Linked DNA regions of Homo sapiens: all the other regions are linked to region 1. The links are contacts of gene promoters, found by promoter capture Hi-C in human tissues and cell types (Jung and others, 2019). All regions are on one chromosome and are shown on one strand. Each heading gives the region's core, a stretch centred on a gene start or on the middle of the fragment in contact. The rest is flanking DNA. Distances are from core to core; before and after follow the strand shown.

Region 1 (2,622 bases), core at 32-2,531:
CCTCCCTTGCTTTTCCTTTGTCTCTAGCCCCAATGAACTCACATGCCAAGGCCTTTGCATGCCGCATTCCCTCGGCCTGGATGTCTTTTCCAGGCCTTCTCTCCTGGCATACACTCATTCAACTGGGCTGTCCCCACCTCCAGGAAGCCACACCAGATAGCAGTCCTCAGGGGCAGAATAGGCCTGAGGGGCCCGCAGAGGGTGTCCTTGGGGATTGTGTGATGTGTGTGTTGGTGAAGGGAGACCCTACAAGCATTTGTTGAGGGGCTTTGGGCCTCTGAGGAGCCACAGCCCCTTTTCATCTTCCTCTCAGTCTGGGAGGCCCAGGCCAGAGTGATCTGCACCCTAACTATACAAGGCCCTGGAATCCCCGTCCCACCCGCGGCAAGGGGCTGGAAGCCACAGGGCCTTAAACTCCCCAGGGTGACCCCCGACACTGAAGGCGATGGTCTCTGCTCTTCCCAGCAAGGCAGGGCCTCTTTACACTGGGTGTCGCGCCGTCTGAGTTCCTGACTTGTTTACCCATCCCGTTGGGGCTCCGGCCGCTGCAGGCTACCTGCTGTGCCCGGGATTGGGGACCTGTGACTCCCGAGTGGAAGAGATGGTGGCCCAGGAGGAGGACCCCGACCTATTCAGACTGGGAGCTGGGGTCAGAGTGTCTCCGTCTCCGGAGGGGGACCTTCCAGACCCCGGGCGGGAGGGGCCCACAGCAGGGTGCCCCGGCGGCCCCAGGAGGGGGTCCGGGCCTCGGGCGAAGGCTGCGGCGCCCCGGAAGGAGCCGCGCACGCCCCTGCACGCGGTGCCCGCTGCGGAGGCCACGGATCCGGAGGTGAGAGCGCCCCCGCCCCGCTCCCTGCCCAGCCCGCGCGCGGCCCGGTCCGGGGCTGGGGGCGGGCGCCAAGAGGGGCGCCGGGCGCAGTGGGGCGGCCCCCTCCCTTTTCCGCAGCGCGGGCCCCGCTCCTCCTCCCGCGTCCAGGCCCGCGGCCGCGCTCCCTGTCCCTCCGCAGCGGGATGCGGACTCCGAGCCCGGGCGGGGGCCGAGGGCCGAGGCCTGGCGGGCCTGGCGGGGGCCCCGGCGGGTGGCGGCGCAAGGGCCGGGACCGAGGCCGCGAGCGCGCCCCTCCCGGCGGCCGGGCGCGGAGAGGCGGGGAGGGCGGGCGTGGGGAGGCGGGCGGCGGCGGGCGGGGGGAGCCAAGGAGGCTCGGAGCCTCGCGGCGCGCGGGCGGGCGGCGGAGGGGGCGCGGGGAGCCCCCCGCCCCACGAAGGAGGAGTCTGGCTCCCACTTGCAGCCTCGGACGCGCGGCGAGGCGGCCGCCGCCGGAGGAGCCCCCGCCCCTGCGCGCCTCCCTCCCGGGAGCCCCTGCCTCCCTCGGTGCGCGCTGCTGCTCGCAGCCGCCGCGGCCGCCGAAGAGGAGCCCGGGGCCAGGTAGGACCGGAGGCGGGCGGGGCGCGGCGGGCGCGGGCGGGAGGCCGGGCGCGGGGCGCGGCCGGGACCCTCTCCAGGCGCTGGGCGACGCCCGCGGCGCTGCGCAGGGGCGCCCGCAAAGTTACTTTGGCCGCCTTTGCCGGGTGCGGGAAGCGGGCTGGGCACCCCAGCTGCCCCGCCTGCCTAGCGGGCGGCGGCGGGAGGGGGCTCCGCCAGGGCGCGGGACTCCGGCTGGGGCCGCGGGGTCAGCGAAACTTTTCCCTTGCTCGCCAGTCGCTGCTGCTGCTGGCGGAGTAGCTGGTGGAAGCAGCGGGCTGGTGGAGTGCCAGTGATGATGATAGTGGTAACAATAGCAGCCCCCGCTTGTAGAGAGCCTACTGTGTGCGCTGCCAAGCCCCTGCTGGCACTTGGGGGGGAAGAGATAGGGAACGAACGCTGGCCGAGTGGCCACTTTTGCTAGGTATTGCTGGAAACTTCATCCATTTCCTTCCATCCATTCATCCCTCCCTCCCATCCATCCATCCATCCATCCATCCATCCATCCACTCACTCAACACATATTTATTCCTGTCTGCTATGTGCTCGGCCAGGGGATTCAGTGGCTACCTAGACAGGTCCCAGCCCTCAAAGGGAATGTTGATCATGGAATGCCCAAACTAAGGAGCAGTTCTGTCTCCTGTGTGTTTGTTCTGGGACATGTTACGGGAGCGTGAATTCATGCTGTCTCCCTTCACCCTGGCAGGGCCAGAGGCGTGTCATTCAGAGCACTGATGTGCCCAGGAGTCTGGCAGGCCCCGGCCTGGCCTTCGGAACTCACCCTGCTCCTTTCCCTCCCACCTCTCCGGGCTCAAGCTGGGTGGCCCAGTTGGTGTCAGGAGGCTCCACTCCGGAACTGGCCCCCACCCCTGTCCAGCTGACCTCTCTGGGATGTCTCTTCCCCAGTGCTGGGCTGGCCTGGCTCCCAGCTCCCCTCCCAGAGTTTCTTTGCCTTCCCCCTCCCCATTTCCCCTGCTCTATTGAATGGCCCAGAGGAGAGCTTGTTAAGTGGCAAACAATTATGAAATTAAACTGGGGGAACAAAAGTGGGCTGGCTGTTGAATGGCGGAGCTGGCTCACGGGAGTTGAATGGCACTGGGAGACTTGTTAGCAGGGATCTGCGGCGCCGGGGGGCGGGGGCGGGTCAGGCAGACAGGCAC
Region 2 (2,622 bases), core at 35-2,534, 160 kb after region 1:
AAGCTCTTTCTACATTCACTTGCTTAATCCGAACAATGAGCCTAGGAGGCACACACCAAACAGTTCTCATTGCTCAGGAAGGGAGCGGGGAGCATGGACCTTGGAACTGGCTGGCATTCGAATCCTAGCACTAGCATTTCTAATGGTGTGACTGGGAAAGAATGTTTCTACCTCTCTGTTTCCCCCTCTGGTACCCCAGAGTACCAGTGGCCTTCCTTCCTGCGTCTCCTTTACCCAGGCACTGAGCTGGGCAACAGGGAATCTTCTCTGGTCCTCACATCACCATGCGAGGCAGCCACAGCTCTCCCTGCTGTACAGACAAAGTAAGTAGGGCTCAGTTCCAAGCTCCTGCCAGCCGGTGCTGGAAATGGAGACTGTTTGACTCCGAAGCCATGCTCCTCCGATTTCACCGAAGTCCAACCACCTACCACATGTGCAAGAACACAGAAGCCTCCTGAAAATCCCAACTCAGCAACACTGACCAGGGCCCATGATGTGCCAGGCACACTCACAGGCAGGAGCAACAGAGCAGTGAGCCAAAACCCCCACTCCTGAAGAAGCTCATGTTTTGAGACGCCCACCCAGTTTCCTCCTCTGCAAATGAGGCTCATTGTCCCCACCACAAGCCTGAACCCCAGGGCCTGGCCCAGAGCCAGGCACACATTCTCATTCTCACTTGCTGAGTGTTGAGTGTTGAGATTCGTCCAGTCCAGTGCAGCATCCTGAGCCAGAACATAAGCAGCCACACTATAAGTTACCTTCCTGGGTGTGTGATGACAGTTAAGATGCTGGTAACATCTGTATTTTGGATTTTCTCTGCAAGACTTATTTGGGACAATACGTTCTTGGATTGGTACCTGGCTTCTTGATAGGATCATGACCTCATAGAATCACTGGTGCGACTCAACTCTGATGCTTAATTGATCCACAAATGGTTGTCGTGGCTCTGGAGGGACCAAATGAATGGGGAGCCTGCCTGGGCTGGTTGCACCGTTGTCCATTTAGTTTGAATATATAGAGGGCTTCCCGTGGAGGCTAGGAATCAAGAAGAATCCTGATCCGGGTTCAGGGGAATGAGGCGGGAGTGCTCTGAGGATGCCGGAGTGGTGATTAACACAAGGCAGGTGCTGGAGGAGGTGAGCAGTGTCCCCCGCACCATGCATTTCCATGGGGCCTGGCTGAGGTCCTGCCATGGGGTGTGCTGCATAGGGCTGGGGCACAAGGGAGAATGAGACCTCATCCCTGCCCTTGGGGACATGGGACTCCCAGGTTTGAGAAAATTCAACCACACAAATTAAAACGATTACGAGAAATTCTGTCTGATGTGCTTCTTCCAACTTCACCAACAGGTTCATGATAGCCTTGTCTTCTGCCTGACACAGCTGTGTTTGAAAGGGGGCTTCTCCAGTGGGGAAGGGGGCCCATGTGACCACCCTTCACAGGGCCCAGGTGGGGAAAGCCTGGTGTGGCCCCCTCACATTCCTGCAAGAGGCATCAGAAACTGTGCCTCCCTCCCTTTGGCGGCCGGCCCTGTGCTACTTCCGGCAGAGCTTGCCTGGCACATGCCGAGTGCCTACCCTGTCCATGCTACTGGGAACCGGGGTTGGAGGGGGACTCATACTCCTTTCTAAAGGGAGGCTTCAGAGCCAGGCCGGACCCAGGACACATGCATGGAAGGAGCTGCAGTGTCGCCACAGCCAATCGGGACTTGGGAGAAAGTTTGAACAACAAAAGAATAACTCTGTAGCACGCTAAGTGAGAGTGAATCTCAGCAGCCTGTGCAACCTCCTTGCCAACTTTCCATGATGATGTGACTTTCATTCTGTTGCTTTTATCACTACAGCTGGCTTTAAGGAGGTGATCCATATTAGTGCAGATACTGGGGCAGTGCTAGGACCCGTGTAGTCACAGATGCTCTACAGGAAGCAGACACCACCCATGCCAAGGTGCCTGGGCTTCCCCCAGGAGGGCAGCAAGCTTACCAAGCTCAAAGCCTGAGGAGGAGAAGTGGATGCATGGAGTCTGCCTGGTTCCCACTGAACCACCACGTGATGATGCCTGTAGGCCCTGCTGGGTGGCCTGCGATAATACTCCTTCTGCCTTAGCGTGGCACAGGGGGCCTAGCAGCCCCTGCACCCTGGCCTGTCTCCAAGGCCCCCCTGAGAGTCCAAGTCAGCCTGAGTTACCCCTCAAGACTTGCCACAGTGCCACCCACCTACAGGATGGCAGGTAGTGAATTTTGCATTGGCAAGTAGAGAGTGAGTGAAATTCAAGGGAAATAGTTAAAATCGCTGAAATTACATCAAGAAGACTTAGCTTTTCTTGCCATCAAGAGCAAGGGTAAATAACAGTAATGCTAATATCTTAATAATTTACTTAATTTATTTACAATTATCTTAGAGCCCTTTCCTGAAAAGGAAACTTCCCCATTCTTTACCATATTCATTGAAAATACGTAGACACCATTATATTTACAATAAAAAGAAAGATAAATTGAAGTAACACTGTTGGCAGCGAATATAAATATGATGTTCATAAAAGATTACAAACATTTTGATGTACTTTACCATCCCTTTGGTTGAAAACTACATTCTTCACTTCTCTCTTGGAACAAAAAACATC
Region 3 (2,622 bases), core at 37-2,536, 130 kb after region 1:
GAGAGAGTGTGTGCACGGGGCCACTTCTCCAGACCCCCCGATAGGATGCAGAAGCCTTAAGCTGCTGGGGAAACCCACTCAACTCTCTGCCTCTAGGACAGGGGTAAGAACCCCTCCTTCCTCCACTGGGAACCTCACCCAGGCTCTGGGGGAGGGGAAGGATCGACATCCTTGCAGAATGGGCAGCGACCCCTTGGGCCCAAGGTCTGCTCCTCTACAAAGCAGAGGTCTGAGGGGATGAGCCCAATAGCCGCCAGAGACAGGAGGCAGAGAGGGCTGCCCTGGAGGGGCTGGATGGGGCCGGAGCAGTGAGAAAGCTTCACCCGAGGCCCAGGATGCCTCCACCCCGTCAGGAGCCCAGCACCAGCAAAGGCAGCAAGAGAGGGAAAGGGACCCCTCTCAGGCACTGATGTGAGCCGAGGGTGGCGCAGGAATGCTGAGAAGACCCTCCGGCAGCCCCAGTCCCGCACCAAGTCCACAGGCCTCTCTTCTGGCCTCTCCTAGTTCTAGACATTTCTCTCTCCAACCTTCACCTCTGTGTCTTCACCCCTCCTCCTTGAGACCAGCTCTACGTCCACCCACCACTCTGTTTTACCCTATCCTTCATCCTGCCCAGCCCTCACCTCCCTCCTGAACAAAGCTTGGAACCCACACAACTACTTCTTCACTCCACTCCTCCCTCCCCAGCCTCCCCCTGAGCTTACTGGGGAAGCTCCTGCTGTAACTGCCAGACACGCCCACAACTCTTCCCCAGTAAATGTCCCTTGCTGCTCTCTGTGGCAACCCCTCTGCACCATTTCCTCTTCTTAAATATCCACTATGGTCCCCTCACTCTCAGCTGATAATCTTACCCCATACTTCATAGAGAAAATATACATTATATCAAATTGACTGCACCTATGCTCCCACCCCACAGCTACAGGAGGAAGTCTCGGCTCCTATCCAGGCCACCCCTCCTCGTGTCTCTGGATGTGGTCTGCCTTCTTGAACTACAGAGGCTGGGCAGCTAGAAGGTACTGTGCCCATTTTTCTCTGTAGCAGACACAACAGACACAACTGCCTGCAAGGTGGAAGGAAGGAATTAGCCCAGGTGGTGATCAGCTCTTCTGGTCTGTTTGGTGGCAGAGGGGTTTGGTCCCATCCCCTTAGCACCACAGTGCTGAGCTCTGCTGGGAGGCAGTGGCAGTGGGTTTCTTCTGGAAAAGCCTCCTGGTGGGGTTGGGTTTCTCTTGGCTGCCACGTTCTTGGACGTGGGGACATCCTTTCTGGTTCTCCAGCCCTTCCAGAGCTTCTGTAAGATCCTAATACCCTTCAAAAAAAAAACCTCTTTCTGCTAAAACTTGCCTGTGTGGATCCTGCAATCTGCAACTAAGAACCCTGAACAATACTCAAAGCAACAAAATAGTCTCCAGATAAATCAGATAAAAAAGATATTCAGTGCTGGGTGCAGTGGGTCACACCTGTAATCCCAGCACTTTGGGAGGCCGAGGCAGGCAGATCACGAGGTCAGGAGATCGAGACCATCCTGGTCAACATGGTGAAACCCCGTCTCTACTAAAAATACAGAAAAAATAAAATAAAAAAGAAAAAAAAAATTAGCCGGGCGTGGTGGCGGGCGCCTGTAGTCCCAGATACTCAGGAGGCTGAGGCAGGAGAATGGCGTGAACCCAGGAGGTGGAGCTTGCAGTGAGCCGAGATCGCACCACTGTGCTCTAGCTTGGGCAACAGAGTGAGACTCCATCTCAAAAGAAAAAAAAGCTATTCAGATCATGTCTGAATTCAGACATGAAAACAGACATGATTATGTCTTTTTCAATGGTGTCTTTTTCAGTGGCCAGGTTTCATGCTTTCTGGCCACAATACAATACAAATAGAACCTGATCATAAAAGATCCTATGTCTGGAAAATGAAACTATCACTTCTAAATAGTTTACAGTTTAAAGAGATCCTAGGCATTATGGCAGCCTAGACATTCTAATAAGCCTCCGTTCACAAAACACCCAGTTGATGGATACATATTTTTAAAAACATATATTTAAATTCATTGCAAAGTTCACAAGGAAGTACAGCGAATCATTAAGGGCCAAGGAAAGCTGCTAACCCCAAAGACGGGTGAACAAAAACCTGAAAGCCAGCTTGCAAAAGCTAATCCTGGGAGGCCAAAGTTTTGCGGATTGATGGTGCTCAGGGGTTGGGAGACTGAGGCACAGGCCTGGAGATCCTGGCATAATGAGCCAGGTTACCTGATGGGCTGTATCTTCAGTGCAAGGCTGGGTGAGGAAAACCTGCATGGCTCTGAGCTCCGGGCTGGGCACAGACCTGGAGCTCATGGCCTGGAGTCTGTGAAACCATTTTGGTTTCTCCATCATGGGACCCCAAGGTGGAGGAACCGAAGCAGCGTCGGGCTGGCAGCATCTTTGGCACTTGGAAGAAGCAAACCCTAATCATCTTCGTAGACAATCATACTCAGTCCAGGCCCCTCAGGATTTCCCCCAGATTAAATTCAGCCAAATATAAGCTCTTTCATGAAATAAAAATCACTAAACACATGAAGAGGCAAGTCACCATAAACATGAGTTGGCAAAAACAAGCTAAGACAGATTTAGACTTCAGATATTTGAT
Region 4 (2,622 bases), core at 76-2,575, 130 kb before region 1:
GAGGAAGGGAAGAAGTCCCATGGGACGTACATGCTGAAAGAGTCTGGTGACATAATCAAGCAGCCACCAGGCCGGGAGACAAAAACCCACCTGGCTGGCCTCAGGCGGGTGACGAGGACCTGGGGAATGCTGCGGCCAGGGGTGGCCAGGCAGACGTCCCACCAGGAGATTGGCCTTGTGGCCACAGTCACAACCCAATTTCCCTAATGAGGCTAGGGAGGGCTCACACCACTCCCTAATGACCCAGGATGACCTCGGCTGCTTCCCCACTCTGCCAACCAGGCATCTGCCCGGTGGTTTCCGAACCCACACTCCAGATCTGCATGACTTTCCATGCGTAGGGCCTGTGCCCACAAACCCCAGGTGGGAAGCCAGGCTGTGGGCTACGGTGTAGGGGGTGGGCACTGGTCTGGAGCCTAGGGGCCTGGGACAAGTTCCAGCTCTGCCCCCAACATGCTAAGTGACCTCTGACAGGACACATGGTGTTTCCAGGGCCTCTGCTACTTCACTCTAGAACAGGCGTGCAGGCCAGCTTCCCTCCAGGGCAGCATGCTTTCGGTTCTCACGCACGTCAACTCCATGACCTCGCCTCAGCTTTTCCTGACTGCCTGCTCCCTACAGACCCCAGGCTGGACACTGGGGGGCCAGCGGGTCCTTGTGTCCAAGGGCATATCCTCACTTGGGGGAGAAAGGCCCGGGAGCAGAGACATGAGAGACAGGGCAGGGAGGCTGAGGGTGGAGGCCGAATGAGACAGAGGCAGGGATGCGTAGGTTCCACCTGGGGGATCAGGAGGTGTGCGGGGAAAAGGTGTAGAGGGTTCTCAGTGAGCGATGGTCAGTCAGGATGAGCGGGAGTTCCAGACAGAGGGAGCTGTGTGGGCAGAGGCCGGGATGAGAAGTTCACTATGGCTGGTTCATGACATGCCAAGCAAGGACAGGCTGCAGAGAACCACATTCCTCTCAGGAGCCATGGGAAGGTCTTGAGTGGGGAATGACAGAGCCAGAGGGTTGGGCAGAGCAGTGGTTCTGGCTGCTACCAGAAGGCTTGCGGGGCAGGGAGGCCTGTGAGGCAGCTGCCGCACTAACTCAGGCAAAAGACGGCAGCGCAGCCCTAGGCAGAGGGCAGCATGGCGAGACAGGGGCTCCTTGTGTCACAGGGCATCTGGGCTGCACAGCACCCCTGCCCCTGGCCCCCCATCCATTGGTTCATCAAGTGTCTTTGATCTTAGGAGGCGGTTGGGCCTGGGTGCAAATCTTGGCTTTGCTACTTCTTCACTACGGACAAGTCTCTTTGCTTTTCAGCCTCCATTTGCTCACCTGCAAAATGGGGTAGCTACATGACACAGACTGTTCTCAGGATCTGATGACTCGTGTCAGAGTCTATGCACTATGCTCAGCTATGATGCGTATGACAGCTTTGCACAGTTCTAGTGATCTGGACCGGGCTCTACATGAGGCGATGTCTTGTATATACGATCTCATTTTAATTCTCGTAAACAATTCTGTCATAAAATATATGAATGTTTGCCCCAGGACTTGTGGCAGAGAAGGACGCCAGGGCTGGGCAAGCTACCTGTTGGCCTAGCCCTCTGGGTTGCAGCTCTCCCTGCCCTGCACCCACAACTCTGGGAGATTTGAAAGTTCTGCAGCTTAGGGGAAATTTATACCACTGATGTGAAGTCAGTACTGGGGGTGCCCCTGGCGCCGGCTCAAGGCCAGGCCAGGAGAGGGGCGTGAAGCTGGGCTTACCAGCCGAAAGAGTTGTTTATGGAGTGGGAGGCTCATAAAAAATAATGGGCTGGATTTATTGTCCCCACCTTGAGGGCCATTCCGGACCGCACAGGGCCAGGACAGGCCTCCTCCGGTAGCACCATAAATCTCTCCAGTAAGCAAGGGAGCTGTTTATTCTCCTGTCCACCTGGTCTGCAGCAGGCAAGGGAGCGAGGAGAACCTGCAACCCCACATGTCCTGCCTGGCGCCCTTGCCTGGCTGATCTTCTCCAAGGAGTGGCTGAAGAAGGCAGGTGCTGAGGCTGGGATGGGATTCGGAGGCATGGCCACACCCTCTCTTTAAACAGGAAGTTCCTAGCCGTGCTGCCCCAGCACTCACAGTTGATAATGGAAAGCCCTGGAACAGGGCAGGGGATGTCTCTGGCCCTGCAGGAGCCGTGCTAGGGCCCCTCAGGTCAAGGCCTGGCCCAGATCCTATAGGAATCCCGTCCCAGGAGCCAATAGGAACCTGACAGCTAGGCACACTGATAGGATCCTATCAATATGTGGCTGAGGTGGCTCAGGAGGGCCCATGGGTCTCTGTCCATTGGCTTGTTTCTTTGAGTCTGCAAGTGGATGGTGCAGGGCAAAAAGAACTGACATTGGCCTCAGAATCCAGCCCCTGATCCTGAAGTCCTGCCCCCCCAGTGCAGCTCAGGGAAGCTCAGTTTTCCCTCCCATGATGGGGACATTAGTACTTATCCAAAGCATGTCACAGGGTGGCTGTGAGCATCAGGCGACCCTGTATGGAAACCACAGCAAAGCTCCAGGAGGGTGGAGCTGGGCCTGTCGAGGACACCTGAGCTGCGGGAGGGTGGGGCTGGGCCTCCTGAGGACACCTGTGGGCTGAGAC

What was found. Contacts are between HindIII fragments. The study calls those that stand out against the background at their distance.
Region 2: a contact is called between a fragment that was not itself captured here and the fragment with the promoter of MPPED1 in region 1, in 3 of the 25 tissues and cell types used here (H1 embryonic stem cells, IMR-90 fibroblasts and dorsolateral prefrontal cortex).
Region 3: a fragment that was not itself captured here is called in contact with the fragment with the promoter of MPPED1 in region 1 in 3 of the 25 tissues and cell types used here (dorsolateral prefrontal cortex, lymphoblastoid cells and spleen).
Region 4: a contact is called between a fragment that was not itself captured here and the fragment with the promoter of MPPED1 in region 1, in 2 of the 25 tissues and cell types used here (liver and mesendoderm cells).

The regions. Positions count from the first base shown.
Region 1 is chr22:43,410,733-43,413,354 of GRCh38, forward strand. It overlaps MPPED1 (metallophosphoesterase domain containing 1), which reads left to right and starts at 1,282. Exons shown (of 7, transcript NM_001044370.2): 1 at 1,282-1,426. The HindIII fragment of the contact is 18,974 bases long and covers 1-2,622 here.
Region 2 is chr22:43,567,520-43,570,141 of GRCh38, forward strand. All of the region lies in intron 26 of EFCAB6 (EF-hand calcium binding domain 6), which reads right to left. Among named protein-coding and RNA genes, the nearest start is that of EFCAB6-AS1, 53 kb to the left of the region's middle. The HindIII fragment of the contact is 4,174 bases long and covers 1-2,622 here.
Region 3 is chr22:43,543,403-43,546,024 of GRCh38, forward strand. All of the region lies in intron 27 of EFCAB6 (EF-hand calcium binding domain 6), which reads right to left. Among named protein-coding and RNA genes, the nearest start is that of EFCAB6-AS1, 28 kb to the left of the region's middle. RefSeq lists enhancers at 1-38, 39-816. The HindIII fragment of the contact is 3,458 bases long and covers 1-2,622 here.
Region 4 is chr22:43,276,332-43,278,953 of GRCh38, forward strand. All of the region lies in intron 4 of SCUBE1 (signal peptide, CUB domain and EGF like domain containing 1), which reads right to left. The region is part of intron 1 of SCUBE1-AS1 (SCUBE1 antisense RNA 1); the gene reads left to right. Among named protein-coding and RNA genes, the nearest start is that of SCUBE1-AS1, 1.7 kb to the left of the region's middle. RefSeq lists an enhancer at 1,389-1,889. The HindIII fragment of the contact is 5,790 bases long and covers 1-2,622 here.